7 separate regions of the Homo sapiens genome follow, and regions 2, 3, 4, 5, 6 and 7 are each linked to region 1. The links are contacts of gene promoters, found by promoter capture Hi-C in blood cells and fetal thymus (Javierre and others, 2016). All regions are on one chromosome and are shown on one strand. Each heading gives the region's core, a stretch centred on a gene start or on the middle of the fragment in contact. The rest is flanking DNA. Distances are from core to core; before and after follow the strand shown. Region 1 holds the start of ANGPT1 (angiopoietin 1). Region 2 overlaps ANGPT1 (angiopoietin 1). Region 3 has its middle 220 kb from the start of ANGPT1. Region 4 has its middle 200 kb from the start of ANGPT1. Region 5 overlaps ANGPT1 (angiopoietin 1). Region 6 overlaps ANGPT1 (angiopoietin 1). Region 7 overlaps ANGPT1 (angiopoietin 1).

What was found. The method cuts DNA at HindIII sites, captures the fragments that hold promoters and counts their contacts. A CHiCAGO score of 5 or more calls a contact.
Region 2: a fragment that was not itself captured here is called in contact with the fragment with the promoter of ANGPT1 in region 1 in 1 of 17 cell types (megakaryocytes); the score reaches 9.6 in megakaryocytes.
Region 3: a contact is called between a fragment that was not itself captured here and the fragment with the promoter of ANGPT1 in region 1, in 1 of 17 cell types (neutrophils). The highest score is 5.1, in neutrophils.
Region 4: a fragment that was not itself captured here is called in contact with the fragment with the promoter of ANGPT1 in region 1 in 1 of 17 cell types (neutrophils); the score reaches 7.8 in neutrophils.
Region 5: a contact is called between a fragment that was not itself captured here and the fragment with the promoter of ANGPT1 in region 1, in 1 of 17 cell types (megakaryocytes). The highest score is 18.8, in megakaryocytes.
Region 6: a contact is called between a fragment that was not itself captured here and the fragment with the promoter of ANGPT1 in region 1, in 1 of 17 cell types (megakaryocytes). The highest score is 15.2, in megakaryocytes.
Region 7: a fragment that was not itself captured here is called in contact with the fragment with the promoter of ANGPT1 in region 1 in 1 of 17 cell types (megakaryocytes); the score reaches 12.5 in megakaryocytes.

Annotation. Positions count from the first base shown.
Region 1 is chr8:107,496,535-107,499,266 of GRCh38, forward strand. ANGPT1 (angiopoietin 1) reads right to left here and starts at 1,384. Exons shown (of 9, transcript NM_001146.5): 1 at 728-1,384. The coding sequence starts at 1,024. The HindIII fragment of the contact is 4,855 bases long and covers 1-2,732 here.
Region 2 is chr8:107,258,093-107,260,824 of GRCh38, forward strand. All of the region lies in intron 8 of ANGPT1 (angiopoietin 1), which reads right to left. Among named protein-coding and RNA genes, the nearest start is that of ANGPT1, 240 kb to the right of the region's middle. The HindIII fragment of the contact is 1,847 bases long and covers 423-2,269 here.
Region 3 is chr8:107,718,679-107,721,410 of GRCh38, forward strand. No RefSeq gene overlaps it. Among named protein-coding and RNA genes, the nearest start is that of ANGPT1, 220 kb to the left of the region's middle. The HindIII fragment of the contact is 2,103 bases long and covers 276-2,378 here.
Region 4 is chr8:107,699,052-107,701,783 of GRCh38, forward strand. No RefSeq gene overlaps it. Among named protein-coding and RNA genes, the nearest start is that of ANGPT1, 200 kb to the left of the region's middle. The HindIII fragment of the contact is 7,386 bases long and covers 1-2,732 here.
Region 5 is chr8:107,299,759-107,302,490 of GRCh38, forward strand. All of the region lies in intron 5 of ANGPT1 (angiopoietin 1), which reads right to left. Among named protein-coding and RNA genes, the nearest start is that of ANGPT1, 200 kb to the right of the region's middle. The HindIII fragment of the contact is 641 bases long and covers 1,081-1,721 here.
Region 6 is chr8:107,317,231-107,319,962 of GRCh38, forward strand. The region is part of intron 4 of ANGPT1 (angiopoietin 1); the gene reads right to left. Among named protein-coding and RNA genes, the nearest start is that of ANGPT1, 180 kb to the right of the region's middle. The HindIII fragment of the contact is 3,419 bases long and covers 1-2,732 here.
Region 7 is chr8:107,334,470-107,337,201 of GRCh38, forward strand. It overlaps ANGPT1 (angiopoietin 1), which reads right to left. Exons shown (of 9, transcript NM_001146.5): 3 at 1,681-1,802. Among named protein-coding and RNA genes, the nearest start is that of ANGPT1, 160 kb to the right of the region's middle. The HindIII fragment of the contact is 6,095 bases long and covers 1-2,732 here.

The DNA of each region.
Region 1 (2,732 bases), core at 134-2,633:
ACATGCTGCGTTCAGCCCATATCTGCAGGTGCATGTCTTCCTCAACAGCCAGCATGCCCTCATCGTGAGCGAGCAACCCCTTTCCGACAGTTAACATTACAATGTATCTTTTTAATTTTTTTTCTCAAGGACAGAAGAAAAAAATATTTAACAGAAATCAGTCTACTATTCTACCACTTGCTGAAACTAACAGTTCCCTTTACATAAATATACAATTTCTCCAACCAAATATCATATTTTATATTTACTCTCACTTCATGTTAATTTTTATAAAGGTTAAAAAAACAAATACTTTGTGATGATTTGCCACCCCAGCGGCACAAAATTTTCTGGTGCAAAATCGATTTGATCTTATTAATTAATATTGTCATTATTATTTATTTTTCACCAACTTGCTTAAGAGGTACATACTTTCTTTCTTAAGGTAGTGTTTTGACAGAGAGAACCTTAATGCTGAACTTTAGAAAAGAGAAACCAAAAATGTCATAAAATTTGCCAGGGCTAGACACACAAACGGGGTGCCCCCACACATTCATAGGTTTGGGCAAGCCCCCAAACCTTGGCTTACCCAGGAAGCCAAACCCAGACAGCCGTCTTGCAATTGCAAACACTGCCCCCCTGGAGCAAAAGGTAAATACACAAATGCTCCCCTAAGGAACTTTAAGTTAGCTGCAGTGCAAGAAAGGAAAAAGGTCCGTGCTATTAGAAACTGAAAGCAATCACTTACTTTTTGCAGCCACTGAGTATAATTTTCCATCACATGTTCCAGATGTTGAAGTTTCTGGGAAGAGAAATCCGGTTCCACGTGTGGAGCATCTCTCTGCAGAGCGTTTGTGTTGTACTGGTCTGTCGTACTCTCACGACAGTTGCCATCGTGTTCTGGAAGAATGAAAGTGTAGGCACATTGCCCATGTTGAATCCGGTTATATCTTCTCCCACTGTTTTCTGGACTTCGGCGCTGATTGCTGCACCCTATGTGAGTCAGAATGGCAGCGAGGAAAGCAAAGGAAAGGAAAACTGTCATTGTACTGCCAGCACACTCCTTCCGTGCCTCTCGCAAAACTTGCTCCTTTCTTCTGACCTCTAAAACTAGTTCTTTATTTCAGGTAAAACTGCTTGTTTGTTTGACTCTTTCCCCCTCAAAGAAAGCGTTTGAAGAAGAATCATAGAAAACTAGCCATTTGTTAGCTTTGTTCTAAAATTTTAAAATTTTTTATTTCACTGCAATGATGTTTTTCTTCGTTAAAACTTGAGATATTTATTGCATAGTAGCTGAGATTTATTGTTTCCTCTCTGTGTGACCGTTCAGCATGGAGCCTGCCTGAGTCAGCTGCGTGTACATATTCTAGACCCTTTCCTCTACCCTATCTGCTGCAGATCTGCTATTTTCTCCCAGACCTCAGTGAGTTTTATTAAGGTTGCACATCCAAGCCAAGCTGGAAGCAGGCAGCCTTTCACAAGATGACTTGACAGGAATGCATGAGTGTGCCCCTATACTAAGGATTGCTGATGGCTTAGGGCGGCGGGATCGTCTTACAAATTGGCTAGATGCGCATGACCTCGATCATGTATGGCCCTCCCGCCCCTTTCCACAGACAATTGCCTTGAGCCTTTAGCAGATTCATGGCAAATCAATAAATAGAGCAGTCCACCTTAATACACTTTTGGTGTGCATGCTGACCTACTAAAATATAGCAAACTAGCAGTATGTTTTTAAAGTTACTATTTAGTCGAGGGACCCTAAGAAGAAAATTGGCATAATGTCCAATGGAATTATTTTTGATAGAGAATGATAAACCCATATCATTATTAAATGTCTTTAAAAAACATGTATTCTTGACTCTGAGGAAAAATATGTTAAAAAACAGTTTTTACAGATGGTATTCTTTCATTGTATTCACTTAGACTTTTAGGAGTTGAAGAAAATAATCAGAGAGGATCAAATTAGCAAGAAAATTAGCATCATTTGTTGCTCAAAGCAATATGTTGCACAAAGCAATATAGTATGTGCATATTAAAGAGGGTTATCTAAGTACCTTTTGGTATAGGGTTCTTAAATGAAACTGGTGTCCTGATCAGAATGCAACCCTTCATGTTCTGTGTATATAAATTGAGCAACTTCCCTACAAAAACAATGTGGCTACAATTTAAAGCAGTGGCTTGAGAATTATTAATTCCTGTGGTATATCCTAATCCTGTATTTTACAAGGATCTCTTTGGTGGCTATGGCTGTCTTTAACACTGGTGTGGAAGTTCCACATAAAAACCTCCTGTGGCTGCACAGACATACTATGTGAGAACAAGCATATATCAGGTGTGCTAACAGCCAGCAATGGGCTGTACAGGAGACATCTCTGTGCTTCTGTGAAGGAAGAAAGAAAAATTATCAGAAGATGATTTCCCACAGGCAGCGTATAAACATTTGAACAAAGGGACCCATAAACATAAACAGGCAATAATTGTAGAATTTAGGGAACGGCTTTGAGATCTTTACTAGATGCAGAAAACCTGAATTATGAGTTGGGATTTTCATTAGGAACTGGGAGGGCTTTTAGACAACTGCAGTCATGGTGTGAAAACAGAAGCCACAGCTGTCATCTCCCATGTCTTGGAAGGAGAACAGGGCAGTGGGTGAAGGTCCGTAGTGGTTAGAGATGGGCATTTAGGGAGAAGTTAGAGGAGAGGTCAAAACAAATTCCAGAACAAATGCGATTTACTTGGGGAAAGAAACC
Region 2 (2,732 bases), core at 96-2,595, 240 kb before region 1:
TCATACTTCATTTTGCTTTTAACCATGTTTAAATGAGGAAATGCTTGCAAAAAGATGCTGCAAACGGTACAATAGAGCTCTGTCATTCTCTTTGAATGTCATCCCTTTTAATGGAGGCAGTAGAAAGAGTAGATAGAACAAAGGCCTCTGGAGGTTGAGTACCTGCATTTAAATTCTACTTCTGACAAAATTCTGTGACCTATGGCAAATTATCTAACTTTTCTGTATCTCAGTTCTTGCCAAAAGTATTATTGTAGTCTGTATTTCCAAGAGTTTTTGGAAGCTTCATATATGTTATTAAATATAAATCATTTAGAATAATATAAACGTATCCATTAGAAAGAGCTCAATAAGTTTTTAAATATTATTACTGAGTACAATACAAAATTAATTGGTTATTTCTCATCCACTGTCAATTATTAAGCTTTGGTTGTAGCCTTGCACGAGAGGACTATCGGTTCTGATTCACCTTTTTCCAAACTTATAAAAGACATTTTCTGATACTCTTTGCTCTTTTTCTAAGAAATGAAACTTTGCCCGAGAAAATAGGAATGTAATCTTAAACTTTGCATTTTAGGAAGCTCAAATTTATTTGACAGTCAGGAACCTAACACTCAAATTTTTATAATTCTGCAGTTCAGTCTTTTGGGGTTTGGTTATTCTTAAGTTAGTTTCAGTCTTTGATAGTCATCTCTTTGTTCCATGCTGGTGCATATAAATACATGTATGTATTAGGCATTTTAAATATAAGTTCATGCAAGAATCACGTTTATACTAACATTCATTTATGTATTTTCACCAGAATAATTTGTAATTTTGCAATGTCCTTTCAGAGTCTCTGCTAACATTTACTCACTAAACCAATATTTATTGAACATATGCTATCTGCCACACACTATGGCAGCCACTGGGGATACAGTAGTGGACAGCATAAAATCCCTGCATTCACAGAACTTACATTTGTGTAGAATAGGCTTACGTTTTATGTACTAAATATAGAAATTGGGTTGAAATAAAAGTAGTGCAATGTAGATTTCTATAGTCAATCTTACATTAGTCATATGGATCTTCTTTTCTCTCAATATTTTTACCTTGAAACAGAGAATTTTAGTTATCTGATCATGCTTAGCAGGTCTTTCTTGGGTTCCCAAAAATGCTAAGACAATTATATTTTCCCAAAGATCTTGTCACTTCAAGGTCATACACCAGTTGAAAAAACTGCTAGCTTCTATCATTTTCTTTGTCTTCTTTAAGATTATATAGTAGGCAAAGTGAGCGTTTGTCAACTGTCTGCTGTTAGCATCTGGAAAGTTCTAGATGTACTAAGAAATTTACGTGTATGGCTTTATCCCCTATTTAAGGACTGAACTGAAAAATATCCTTCGTTAGCTTTAGAAAGTCTTGTCTACCAGTTGACATGGTTTATGCATTGGGAAAAGAAATGAGAGTTTCTACTTCAATAGATTCTTTCTACAGAAAGTTAGGTCACATTTTTACATAGCCTTTATATTATGTACTAAATATGGAAATTATACTGAAACTAAAGTAAGGAATGTAAAACGGTAACATATTTGTTTTTGTTGTTGGCAACCTTTAATAATTACAGTTTATGAAAGATTTTTAGAAATAATTCTTTAATTATAACATTAATAATTTTAGTTAACTGTAGCTTAAGCAAACTTTCAGAAATGCAGACTTTGAAAACTCCTAATTTAGTATCAAAGATTTTTTTTTAGCTGAAGGTAAGTTTGTTTTGAATGTGACAATCTAGTAACAAAAATTTGTCACTGTCTTAATTTTGGAATCAGAATTTTTCACATATTTATCTCCATATACAATAAATCTATACAAAAAGTATGCATTGAATGAGATTTCATTTTCATTTTCTTAATGTTAAATAGTAGATAAAACTATTTCTTTTAAATTTTTAATGAAACTTATGCTCTAGCCTGTCTTGCTCATTTGTTTAATAGTAATTAACCCCCTTAAACTGATAGAAGAAAGCCAAGAAATAAGGAAGTTAGGAAATGAAGAACAAAGATCAAGTCCTACCTTGGGTCTAGCTGAAATACCTTCTGCTTTCAGTTAAGCCTATTTCCTGCCATTCAGTCTTTTACCGATAAGGGTAATGATACCAGATTCTCCAGCTAGAATTCCTCTATGTACTTGAAGAAAACTAGGATAGTTAGTGGGCAATAAATCTTATTTTACTCTTAATCCCTTTTAGAAGAAACAAAGGAAAAATATATAAATAAACAAGATAAAACAAAGCTTTAATTGATGATGACAAAGAGCTATGAGTTACTAGCTCCAAAGAGTATGAAGTCTCACTGCTTAAGAGAGGGTATTTTAAATAGGCAACAGGCTCAAATACTAAGTTTAAAAAGAAAAAAAAGGAAAGGAAAAATCATTAGATGAGGAAAATGGCTCTAAGGGAAATTTTGACAGAGAATAAGTAGTAGTGGTGGGGAGTAACTAAGTAGGACCTAAGTTCCAGGCAATACTCCAGTTACCTGGACTGTCAATGACATTCATCCTTATGTTCTCCAGTTCTTAGCTATCTAAATTCCACATTTTAGCTTTCCATAATAAATAGCTTTGCAAGACCTGGATTCTTTCAAAGGGACATTTGATAAGGTAATGGCGTTTATTACAAAAACACATTTACTTAGACTATTCCAGCCCAAGCAATAAGTGGAAATATTCTCTCCCAAACATATGTGTTTATTGGT
Region 3 (2,732 bases), core at 77-2,576, 220 kb after region 1:
AAGAAAGCTCTTGGTACTCTGAATATTCTGCTGAGCACAGGTAAGTGTTTACTTGGAGAAAACTGTCAGAGACCATGAGGGAAGGGAAAGTACCAAATGGAAGAGGCAGAATAATCCCTGGAGCTCAAAGAAGGATGGGAATAGTTCATGTCTCCACTAGCTAAAGTAGAAAAATCTTGCAGCACGTGGGATATCAGGCAGAATACTATGAAGATTATCATCTCGGTGGCAGGAAAAATTAGCTCTAAACTAGTTGTTCTACTGCTGTATAATAAAGCTTGAAAGCAGGACTCAAAAGAGTCAAACATTTCCAACATACCTACATTCATGAGCAAAGTTCACTAACACATTAAAGAATGTGAGCAATCAGCAAAGTAAAATTTACAATGCCTGGCATCCAATAGGTAATTATCAGGCACACAGGGAGGCAAAATCTAAAGTTAATGAATAGAGAAAAAAATGTAATCAGGTAAGACCAACCTAGAATTGGCAGATGATTAATATACAAAGGTATCAATGCAGTTTTATAACTCTTTTCCTCATGTTTCAGAAGATAGAACAAAATATGATTATTTTAAGGGCATAGTAGATATAAGAGAGATCAAAAATAAAATTTTAGAGTTAGAGAATACAATGTTTGAGATTTAAAAATGTACTTGAAATTAACTGTAAATTAGACACTGTATAACAACAGATTAATTGAAGACATAGTATTAAAAATTATCTAAATTAAAACACAGAAAAAAAAGTCACATTATAAACTAGTGATAAAGAGAATATCTTCTTAAAAGCCTCCAGAGTAAAATAACACATTTCAAACAGAAGAGCAAAGAAGAATAATAAGAGACATCTCTTCAGATACAATATAAGCCCAAAGACAGTGGGACATCTCTACAGAAAATAAAAATATTGCCAAACTAAAATTTTATCGCCAGTCAAATATCTCTTTTAAAGATATAGAAAAAAAAATAGCCAGGCATGGTAGAGGGCACCTGTAATCCCAGCTACTCGGGAGGCTGAGGCAGGAGAATCACTTGATCTCAGGAGGCAGAGTTTGTAGTTTGTCAAGATCACGCCATTGCAGTCCAGCCTGGGCAACAAGAGTGAAACTCCATCTCAAAAAAAAAAAAAAAAGTAGAAAAAAAATATTTTCCAGATATTCTAAAGCTGAAGGGACTCATTACCAGCAGACATTTAATACAAAAAAGGTTAATTGAAGTGGTTTATGATGAAAGAAAATGATATCAGGTCAAAGTCTGGATCTTTACAAAGCAATTAAAGACACCAGAAATAATAGTTATAAAATAATTGTCTTTCAAATTTTATTAAAAGATACTTGACTGTTTAAAGCAAAAATATTGCAATGAATTTTGGGATTTATTATCTACAGAGAGAAGTAAAATATATAACAATAGTGCAAAAGCCAGCTTTACCCTGATACCAAAATGAGAAAAAGATATTAGAACAGCAAGAAAATCTACAGACGAATATTGCTCATAAATATAGACACAAAACTCCTTAACAGTATTTCTAATATTTAAATCCAACAATATATGGAAGAGTAATATATCATGACCAAGTGAGATTTGTCCCACGATGCAAATTATATTAATATTAATACATTAAAATATTTATATTAATATCTTCAAAAGTCAATCAATAGAATTTACAGTATTAAACTACTAAAAAATGAAAAGCCATAAAATCATTCTTAATACATGCAGAAAAAATATTTTATAATAGCCAACATTCATTCATGATTAAAACTCTCAGCAAGCTAGAATAGTAAAGAAAATCTATCTCTACTAAAAATACAAAAAAAAAATTAGCCGGGTGTGGTGGCAGGCGCCTGTAGTCCCAGCTACTCAGGAGGCTGAGGCAGGAGAATGACGTGAACCCAGGAGGCGGAGCTTGCAGTGAGCGGAGATCATGCCACTGTACTCCAGCCTGGGCGACAAAGCAAGACTCCATCTCAAAAAAAGAAAAAAAAAGAAAAGAAAAAAAGGAAAGTCTAATGTATAAAATTCTAAGTACTCTATGAAGAAGAAAGTCTTTGGAACTAATAATGAGTTTAGCAAGGTTGTAGGATATAAAGTCATTATAAAAATTTCAGCTGAGTCTATATATAAGCAATAATGAATCTGAAACTGAATTTTTTAAAAACATCATTTATAATAGCATCAAAAATATACTATTTAGACATAAATTTGGTGAAAGATGTGCAAAAACTGTACACTAAAAAGCAAAAAATATTTCTGAGAGAAATTTAAAAAGACAAGTGAAAATAATATACCATTTTTATTTGAAGACTCAATATTGTCAACATGTGAATTCTTCCTAGATTGTGCTTCACTGAAATCCTAATCAAAAGCTAAGCAAGCTTGTTTGTAAAAAATGACAATTTAATTTTAAAATTTATATGGAAATGCAGAGGACCTTGAAAGCTAAAATAACTTTAAAAAGGAAAAGTTGAATTTATACTAACTGAAATGAAGACTTATAAAGCTACAGCAGTAAAACCAGTGTAGTATGTGACACCAATAACCTCTTTCCATTTACAAAGAGTAACTCAAAGTGGATTAGAAATCTAAATATAAGAGTTAATACTGACTAGGCGCGGTGGCTCATGCCTGTAATCCCAGCACTTTGGGAGGCCAAGGTGGGTGGATCACCTGAGGTCAGGAGTTTGAGACCAGCCTCGTCAACATAGTGAAACTCCATCTTTACTAAAA
Region 4 (2,732 bases), core at 84-2,583, 200 kb after region 1:
TGATTCCATTTATATTAAAGCCTACAAAGTGATCAGTGGTGTAGGTAGAGGGGTGAGGATATAGGAGAGAATAGGCACCAATGAACATAAGAAAACTTTTGAGGCTGATGTATATGTTCATGAGGTGATTGTGGTGACTATTACATGGGAATAGACATACTTCAAAACAGCAAGTTATATACTGTAAATTTATTTTATATCAATTGTATCAGTAAAGTTGTTTTAAAAACAACAATAAGCAAACATTTAAAAAAATAGGTTGTGGAACATACTAGAAGGTATTGTACTGATAACCAAAAAGTCAGAATGGCTACATCTTATCCATTCTTCCTCCACAACATAGCCACTTGCTTTTCTCTTGGTTGACTACTTTTCCTACATTCTTGATCCATGTAGTATATTGCTATTTGGAACAAAGAATAGAAACAAAAATTACTCATAATTCCACCACATAGAATTTATTTCCAGTTTTTAAATATCAGATCATACTCTCTGCTTTTGAATTTAGTTTTAGTATTAGCCTTATACAATTTGTATTCTGTTTTATTGAAGTTTCTAGTCTTTCAACTTTTCTAATACACAGAAAATTGTAAAAAGTGAGACACTTAGGTAATCATCCCTTGACTTTAGGATTTTGCTTCATATTTCTTTAAAAAAACAAACATTATAAAGTTCCACATTCCATTCCTTCCCTTTCTCTCCAGAAGTAAGCAAAGCCCTAAAACTGTTATATATCATTATCATATATGGTTTTATACTTTATTATATATGTATATGCATATAACAAATATGTACCATTGCTTTGTGTTTTTAAAAGTTCCATAAATGATACCATGAGGAACATGATACAGCTTGCTTTTTCTCTTCACTATGTCTTTGAGCTTTATCCATGTTGACACATATCAATCCAATTCATTTCTTTTGTCCGTGTCCTACTGCATTAATAAATTCAATTTAGCATTGCTGTTTCACTTAAAATTATGTCACAGTTGTTCTCCAAGCCCTGTGGTTTTCTGGGTTTGGAAGTTTCTTCCCCCATCTCTTCCTGCCTGGCTCTGTCTCCTCTCTCAAGGCACAATTCAGGGAAACTTCCCAGACAAACCTACCTGAAGTATTTCTCATCTTCGCCACCACCCAACAAATAATTACTCTTTTTGACATCATCCTGCTAATTTCTTTTATAGCATTTACTGTTTATTTTGTCTGTTTATTGCATGGTTCTTCTGGTAGACTGTAAATTCTCCAAGGTCAGAGACTTTGCCTTTCTGGTTCACCTTTGTATTTTAAAGAGGCGTGTCACATTAGTAAAGCGCATGTCACATTATGGGTACTCTACTAATACATAGAGAAAGAATGAATAAATGGATCAACAGATGGATGATGGGTGAAAGGTCACTTCTCGTATTAATTCTGTGAGGCTGTGTTCTATTGTCAACAAAGCAAAAGAGTTAAAAAAAAAAAAAAAAAGAGGAGATCTTAAATTTTATATCTTATTCCTTAGCCACACATGGGCCAATCTACTCTGGATGGCCAATAACTAAGTCTTCTATAAAAATAATAAACTTTCTAAATGTTCTAGTTTTCGAGTTTGAAAGCTACAGTTCAGTCCCCTAAATTTCTTTTTATGAATTATCAACTAAAACAGAAAATAAAATTCTGGCCATTCAGGCACATAAACAGAACATAGTCTTTATTTTATTATCCTGGGAAGTATTCAATGAGACCATAAATATTTCATTGTGGGGTTCATGAATTATTTGTAATTTATGCAGGACACAGGTAATTTGTTTTTAACATCTAAATGAATAGTTTCTAAAGTTTGGGAAATCTGAGAAGATCTTTATACCTACAGGTGTGAATACTACTCTTTTAATTTTATAGAAATGACTTTTCAATATCATAATGAAAAATTGAAATTTCTAGACAGTAATTTAACTTTCTGTAATATCTAGTGATAAGAAACACACATATACACAAACATATATGCTTCTAAAATAGTATAAACATTGATATAGTAGTTTTATAAAATTGGCCTAGAATAATTTAAAAATATATGTAATTTTCTTGAATTAAAGTAGGTAATTTTATTGTGTAGATAGCACATATATTTAAAACTATCCTTTGTATTTGGGTATCCTTTAAAGTAGTGCATCTTTATTTTGCAGATGTTTTAATAAAATGCATAATACTAATAGCTACCATTTATTGTGCACATACCATTTGGAAGGCACAGTACTAAGAATTACTATGTGTATCTCGTTGAGGCATCACAAGAATCTTATAAGGTAAATATTATTTTTTCCATTTTACATGCAAGAAAAGACACTCAGGAGAGGTTATTTAACTCATCCAAGTGAGTGGTAGAACTAAGACATAACTCTAAGCCTATATGCTTAACCACTACATGCTATTGCGAGTGAGGTACAGTATAAATGAGAAAAGAAAAACACTCTTCTTCCTATAACCTCAAAATCATAATTGTTAAAATTTTAATCTTTCTCTTCAGTTTTTAGAAGTTGGGATTGTATTATGTACATTCTCTATTCACCTTTCACTTAAGTTTATATCATAAATATTGCCCATCTCACTAAATATTTTACTTTAAAAATGACTTTTGACAGTTGAATATTCCTTGGCATTTATATCTAATGATTTAACCATTCCCCTTCCCAAAACTGTTTACACTCTGCAATTCCTAACCACTCACACACCTACTAATTAAGTGTGCTTGC
Region 5 (2,732 bases), core at 151-2,650, 200 kb before region 1:
AGTTATATCTAGATATACTATATATCTAGATATGTAGTTATATCTAGATATACTATATATCTAGATATGTAGTTATATCTAGATATACTATATATTTAGATATGTAGTTATATCTAGATATACTATATATCTAGATATGTAGTTATATCTAGATATACTATATATCTAGATATGTAGTTATATCTAGATATACTGTATATATACTATATACTAGTTATATCTAGATATCTAGATATAACTATATATCTAGATATCTAGATATGTAGTTATATCTAGATATAACTATATATATAGTTATATCTAGATATAGGTATCTATATCTATAGAGATCTATATATATCTCTATATATCTATATATAGTATATATATAGTATAGTATAGTATACATCTATATATAGAGATCTATATCTATCTATATATAGAGATATATATGCTTAGAAGAAGACTGGCAAACTGTAAATGCTCAATACATTTGAGCTATTTTGTTAATCAGCTTGTAAATTACTTTTGAGGAAATTCACACAATATTTGTTCTTACCAGTGCTATGCTATGCAATTATACTAAGGGATTAAACACTAAATTTTTTACCTGCAAAAATGTGTATGTATGTCAGTCTGAAATACCCATCTTTATTATAGAACAATGTTACTACTTGTAAGAGAATCTATGATTATAATAGGGAAATAATAAAACAAGAGAATGAACATCTAAGTCCAGAAGAAGGCCAGGTCTTTCTCTCTTCAGCTCAGTTATCTCCCCTTCTCACCACACTCTGCTAGTATTTCAATAAAACTAAATCTAAATCTAACAATAGTCCTGACCAGGTAATATTGGAACTTCTCCTTCTTCTCTCTGAAAAGCCATGGTGGCCATTCAGCAGTGATAAAATTTGCTCCTTATGGGTACGTATGGGTATGTTACTGCTAACCTGTTCAGATTATTATTTTTTCTTAGCCTAAATATCAGAAGTTAATTCAGTAGGTACTTGACATTTGTGAATATAATATTCTAAGTTTTATTTATTTAAGAAAACCCAAAAACTCCATCATATTTAAAATCCACCATTTTGTAGAAGCGTAAGCTTGAATCTTGCTTTCCTGATGAAACCAACCCAGGAGCCAGCCATGGAAGGAGTAAATTGGATTCTCCAACATTCTATTTTATGTAAGCATGAAAAGCAAACCTATTCAGGATTATGAATTGAGGTGGGATCTTTTTCTTCACATTACCAGGCGCAGTGGTTCTGCAAATAGCCTGTGCACCATTTGCATCTCATAATGTTTCAAACTAGAGTGTAGTTGTGGTTATATATGAACTAAAGTCCATAGAATGACTAAAGCTGTATTTGTACTGCACCCCTTCCCACAGACCACATGGTAGTACTGATGATGAAGTCAAAAAAATTCTAAAATTGTGAATATTCTTGATCTGAAAACTTTGGGAATTATTTTTCGATTCATTTATATCACAGAATCACTATGAGTCTAAATGGAAGTTCGCTTAGTATTTTTAGTTAATTTTATTTTTATAGTCAGATTATAAGCTCTAGTGGAACTGACAATAATTTAGAGGTTCTTTCAGGTCTTGAGTAGTACTGTAGGTAAATGATAAAGCAAATGTTTTAACTCCACCTCCTACTCCAGATCAAATTCTCACATACTTCATCTGCTGTGTGTATGGTGTGTGTTTATGATGTGTGTGTGTGTGTGAATTGAATTTAAGCTTAAGTGTGATTTTAGGATATCTTCCTTAGAATAAGTTATCTTCATCTCCTCATTCCCAGACTTGCCATTGTATTTCAATTTTTCATTTGTTTGCTTCTTTAAGCCATGGGATTCAATGTAATCTTGCACAGAAATCAAACATGAAAAACAGCAAAACCACACTTCTCTGGTAGATGGCTGAGGTAGCAAAGTACAGAAGAGTGCCTCCTGCCTGTCCTCCCTCCTGTGCCCACTCCACTCCTACATTTTACCCCCTTATAGACAACATCAAAGGTATCTTTCAAGAAGAAAATTTTGTCCCAGCAAAGGGGAAAAAGAAACCATTTAGAGCTAACATAAACAACTATTCATTACGGAAATCAAGAGAGACAGAGGACAGTGGTAAAAGGGAAAATAGAATTGTATCAGACCTGGACTATAGTCCAGACTTCCTGGGTTGCCAATTAAGTGGCATCTGGCAAACTGGGCTCCAGGATTCATTTCCTTTGCCTATCAAAGGAGACTAACAATCAGGAAGACTAAGTAAGTTAGACTGATTTACTATGCACTGCATGGAAGTGTTGATATTGCCATCAGCAGGTCACTTACTCATTTATTCCAGCACATATCTATTGAGACCTACTATGTGCCAGAAACTATGCTAGGTTCCAGGAAATCAAAGATAAAAGGCACAATCTCTGCCTTTTAGAACTCTGGTAGTGAGAAAGTCATGTAAAGTTGCCTGAGGGAATCAGAGAAGATTCCAAGAGCATTGCACAGGCCCCAGAGGAAATGGGGATAAGAGACAAGTAATTTAGGTGGGGGCATGAGGGGAGGACAGTTGTTTTATCCTGTAAGGGCATGCGGTCCTCTTGGGACCCTGGGCTTCCAGTTAAAACTCACAGACACTGAAGAGCAAGGTTCTTGCCTAATCTCACTCTCTTCAGCTGTCTCACCTCAAAACTTCCCATATACCCTGCTTTACACAGACCATTTCTATCACTATACTTATTGACAGCATTTTATAA
Region 6 (2,732 bases), core at 82-2,581, 180 kb before region 1:
CATCTTTTCTTCTTCCCAGTAGTCTGAGCAATATTTGGCACATTATAGAAACTTACCAAATATTTGTTAAATAAAAATGAATAAATATCATTTCCCCAGAACAGAACAGTTGCTGCAGAACTGTTTTGAATGAATGGATAAATTTATGAACCACATCCTGCTACAGCAGAAATGAGCTTCGAGCTGATTTGAGCAGTGTGAGACAATCAGACTATGTAAGTTTATAATACAGTCTAAATACTTTTTTTAAAAACTTTTTCTTTTCTTTTTTCCTTCCTTCCTTTTTTTACATGCTGTTAGTAATTAAATTCCCAATTATATATTTGCCACGTGTATGCTCAACATGAGATGACATTTTAATCACCAGTGTACATAGATAACCAGTGAATTTATTTTTATTTTTATTTTTTTTTTTTTTGAGACAGAGTCTTACTCTGTTGCCCAGGCTGGAGTGCAGTGGCGTGATCTCAGCTCACTGCAACCTTCGCCTCCTGGGTTCAAGCAATTCTCCTGCCTCAGCCTCCTGAGTAGCTGGGATTACAGGCATGTGCCACCATGCCCAGCTAATTTCTGTATTTTTAGTAGAGATGGGGTTTCACCATATTGGCCAAGCTGGTCTTGAACTTCTGACCTCAAGTGATCCACCCACTTTGGCCTCCCAAAGTTCTGGGATTACAGGCATGAGCCACCGCGCCTGGCCAACTAGTGGTTTTTTAATAGTCACAGTAACTGATTACTCTCCCCTGAAAGATTCCAAACCTTGTTTGTATGCCTTATTAATGTAAATTACTTAATTCCAGCAAATATTTAATTTTGGTAATTTTGAATTGCCAAAAACATGAAGCAATAGGCTGAGCTTTGACATTGTGATAACACTGAGGGCAATATTTCTTTAGTGGATAATGTTTCTAAGAATAAATGTGGCCCAATGTTTGCAGATGAAGGTTAGGCAAAAATAAATGTGTTACTCAGAAGCCTTACAAAGTGGATGCAATTCAGTTTGAATTGACTATTTGCCTAAGACACCATTATTGTCTATTAGGAATAAGAAGAGGAAAGTTTGGTGAATTATTTCAGATAATGTGTTTATTAGTTGTCCTTCTTAAAAGTATCTCACAACATCAGATGTGTTAGTAGAAAAAGTGCTGTGAAACTAAACAAAAGCACTCTCTGAATGCAAAGATAGATTTACAGTTTCTGGATCAAACAAATGTTTGGGAAAAAAAGTACATGTCTAGCCAACACTTCCTAGGAATTCTTTATCATATAACTTTAATGCATTATAGGCATTTTAGAAGGCACTAAAATAAAGATAATTACGATTATTTTAATGTTGACTATGACTTAACACAGAAGCTATGCGTTTTATACTAACCTCTTTTAATATTTCAACATTTAAGAAATTAATTCATTTACTTGTTTATGTATGTATTTATTCTAGGCCCTCTATTTCTTTTTTAAATTTGAATTTTTTAATGACAAATAATAACTGTATATATTTTTGGAGTAAAACGTGATGTTTTGGTACATGTATACACTGCAGAATGATCAAGCTAATTAACATATCCATTACCTCACATACTCGTCATTTCTTTGTGGTCAGAACATTTACAATCCACTTTTTTGGCAATTTTGAACTACATAATTGACAAAAGTTGTATATATTTATGGTGTACTACATACCTACCGGGTAGATATTATGATCCCATTTTAGAGATCAGAAAATGGAGGCCAAAAAAGCTGCCTGGATGACTGTCAACACTCAAACACTCCGGGGCATTGTATTTAAACATTTTCTGCAGAGGAAGTTTTGCTTATAAAGCACATAATGAATGTACTTAACTGAATCTTGTCCATCGAAGGAGAAAGAAGAAACTAAAGTTTAATGAATCAACTGTGTCTTCAGCAATGGGATCTTCGCTTGTATATTGAGCATCTAATGTAATTCTTTCCCTATTGTGGTGAAATAGACAGAATTCTCCTGACTTTATACATGATGAGACAGCTTCCTTAAGGTTAAACTGGTTGCCAATGACAGGGGAAGCTCATTAACATTTTTTTAGTCTGGCCTTGCAGTATTATATTCAGGCTGTCTCCACAGATTAGTGGGTCAGATTGAAACCAGAAGACCTTTTAGGGTCAATTAAAATGTTTGGCTTTTTGGATGACGACACAGCTCGTGTTTTTTAAGATCTTGTAGAATACCTATATTTGAGCTTTAAAATGTACATTTTAGAATATTTGATGCGTTTATTCTGGTATGCTTATTTTGAAATATTTGCATATATATAAATTTATAAGTAAAATATTTACATATAATCCTTCAATAAATAATAAATTTATATGATATATAAATTTTGGTCATAAAACAAAGAAAGGCTTTACCCATGTGTTTTAGAATTTGAATAAAAGTTCATTTTAATAACTGATATTCAATCTAGTATTATGCTATTAGCCATTTAAAATTTTAAATTCACCATAGCCAACGACTAAGGCTCCAGTGAAAATAAAGATATGCAGACAATGAAAATCTTCATAAAAACCTTATGAGAGCCACTTTCCACTTTTGTGTCTCTTATGAGTTCTAAAAGTAACTAAATATTTAGTTAGAACGCTTAACAGTAAGATTAAAGAAAAAAGAGATTAACAAGAAGCAAATAAAATCTATGGTCATGACAGCAGAGAACCTATTGGAAAATTAGGCAATCACCTTAAATTAAGATGGCAAATCC
Region 7 (2,732 bases), core at 102-2,601, 160 kb before region 1:
AAATGCAGCAAAATATGCAGCTCTTTCTGTATGATAAAGCTGTGGTTTTTAATTTTCCTGTGTGTTTTTTTTTGTCCTTATGCTATAATAAACGTGCTATTGTATAATTATAAAACCAAACGACGACTCAGAAAAATAAGGGAAAATTGTCATCGTTTTACTTATCCATGATTCCTGGGCAAAGCCTTCACAAATAGCATCTTGAAATATGACTGTAAATGTGGTTCACTTTTGGTGACAAAATTAAACCATAAAGGGGTGACCCTAGATTAAGGGGTGGTTGAAGCATACCTATTACATACATGTATAGGTCTGGTTACTGTGAAATTGCAGGAGAATAAATGGTATATTTCAACAGGATTGTTAGTTCTAGAACATTTAATCATGCAATAAGGGTCAAGTCCTGTCAAGTTTATTTGTAGTTATACAGCTAACCCCATGTCACAGTACAAGGATAAATAAATGTAACACTTAGAAATACAAGTCATACAGCATGAGTGACCCCTTTCAGATTCTAAACCAACAGCCAGGTTTGTATTTTTCATGCAGAAGTTTAATTGTAATTGTTGCATTATGCTCTACTTTTAGCATGAAGTTGGGAAATTCTTTTAGTTTGTAGATAATATGAAGAGGCCATGTGTTATAGTGGAAAGATCCTGACACCTAAATTACATTCCAATTTCGGCCACTAGCAAGTTGTGTGACCTTGGACAGGTCACTGCCTTCCACTGAGTCTCTGTTCCCTCACTTGTAAAGAACAGAACTAGCAGTCCTCTTAGGTGCCTTCCTGGTGTGGAATATAAAGGGAACTCTAGTGCCACCAATTCAATGGCATTTAACCAGTTTCTATCAATACCATGGTCTTCACCTCAATATTATGCATAGGAACTGAACCTTCTTCAAGTTATCTAGATACCCCGAAGAAAAATCAATGTAATGCAAGAAACTTGTCCTAAGGAAGTCAGTGTTTTGAATTGTTCATCATCAATGTTAATGACTTCAAAATAATACACTCTTTCATTGTCCCAGCATTCAAGATGTCTAAGTTCCAATTCAATCAACTGAAATGATTCATAATTTATAAAACAAGATGGTGTGATGACATCTATAAAGCTAACCAAAGAAATTTACTATGTCCAAAGTAAATGGCTGTAAATGACAACTAAAAAACCAAACCCTTGATCAGCTTTATAGGTAAATTATTTTCTAGAAAAAATATACATTTTCCTTCTCTCTAGTGCTATATTTCTGAATTCAAAAACGCTGTAGCTTTGTAAAAGCCTAAGAATTGGGGTTTGAGTAGGAATTTAAGAGGCTCTATTCTCTGTTGTTATAGGTTTTCATTCTGCTGAAAAATGTCAATATTTTATGTCACTTTATTTAGTCATAGAATCAAATTTTTGTAGATATGGTGAGATTTGAACTACTACCATTAGAGAAATTAATGCTAAAAGTTATATAAAGCAAATATTTCAAGAGTATCAGCAACAATATTAATTTATTCCTGACATACTAGCTGAATTTACCTTAAGCTCTCCTTTATTTTTATATTAATATTAATTTGGCTCTATATTTCATTTTTGTAAACCACCTCAACCTTATTTGTTTAAGAGTTGGCAGAGAGGTGAAGGATATAAATAAGTACACACAGAAACATTTTTGGAATAAAGCAATCCTCACCTGTTTTTTTCATGGATCTTCAAGATTTCATTTGTCTGTTGAAGAAGTTGCTTCTCTAGCTTGTAGGTGGATAATGAATTCTCCAGCAGCTGTATCTCAAGTCGAGAAGTTTGATTTAGTACCTTAAGATAAAAGATGAAAATATTTCAAACTTCAGTCACGAATCAAAGAACTTTTTTAAGTTTTATTTTGTCGTTAAATATTTTTTCAAGAATAATTTAACAAATGGTTTACCGCCGGGCGCAGTGGCTCACGCCTGTAATCCCAGCACTTTGGGAGGCCAAGGCGGGTGGATCACGAGGTCAAGAGATCGAGACCATCCTGGCAAACATGGTGAAACCCCGTCTCTACTAAAAATACAAAAACTTAGCCGGGCGTGGTAGCGGGCGCCTGTAGTCCCAGCTACTCGGGAGGCTGACGCAGGAGAATGGCGTGAACCCGGGAGGCGGAGCTTGCAGTGAGCCGGGATCGCGCCACTGCACTCCAGCCTGGGCGACAGAGTAAGACTCTGTCTCAAAAAAAAAAAAAAAAAAAAAAAAGGTTTACATTCTACTTATATTCTACCAACTAATGTTTTACATGCCTTTCAGATATTATTTTGGTTTGAGATTGAAATTGCAATTGAACAAACATATTGTGTTTTAGGACTTCTGTGTCCTAAAACCCTAGGATATTCTCCTGTGCTAGTTGCTTCATATATTTTATCTCCAATATCTGTAAGTGCACGTTAGTATTAAGTACAAGGTCTTAGATATTGTGAATAATTAAGAATAACTAATAGGCATGTAAAAGATACCTGCCTTGGTGGATCACCTGGCAAAAAACAATTAGAAATGTGCAAAATTCTCTTGACATAGTTTAGAAAGACTCATTATCACACATTTATAGAACGCCTATCACACTAGGTAATGCTAGCCTTTCCGGATATCATGACCACCTATCAAAGGAGAAATTGTTATCATCACTTTACAAATGAGAAAACTGAGCTTCAGACAGAAGCCCAAGTTCACACAGGAACCAAGGGAAGAGTGGGGTTTCAAACTCAGGTAGTT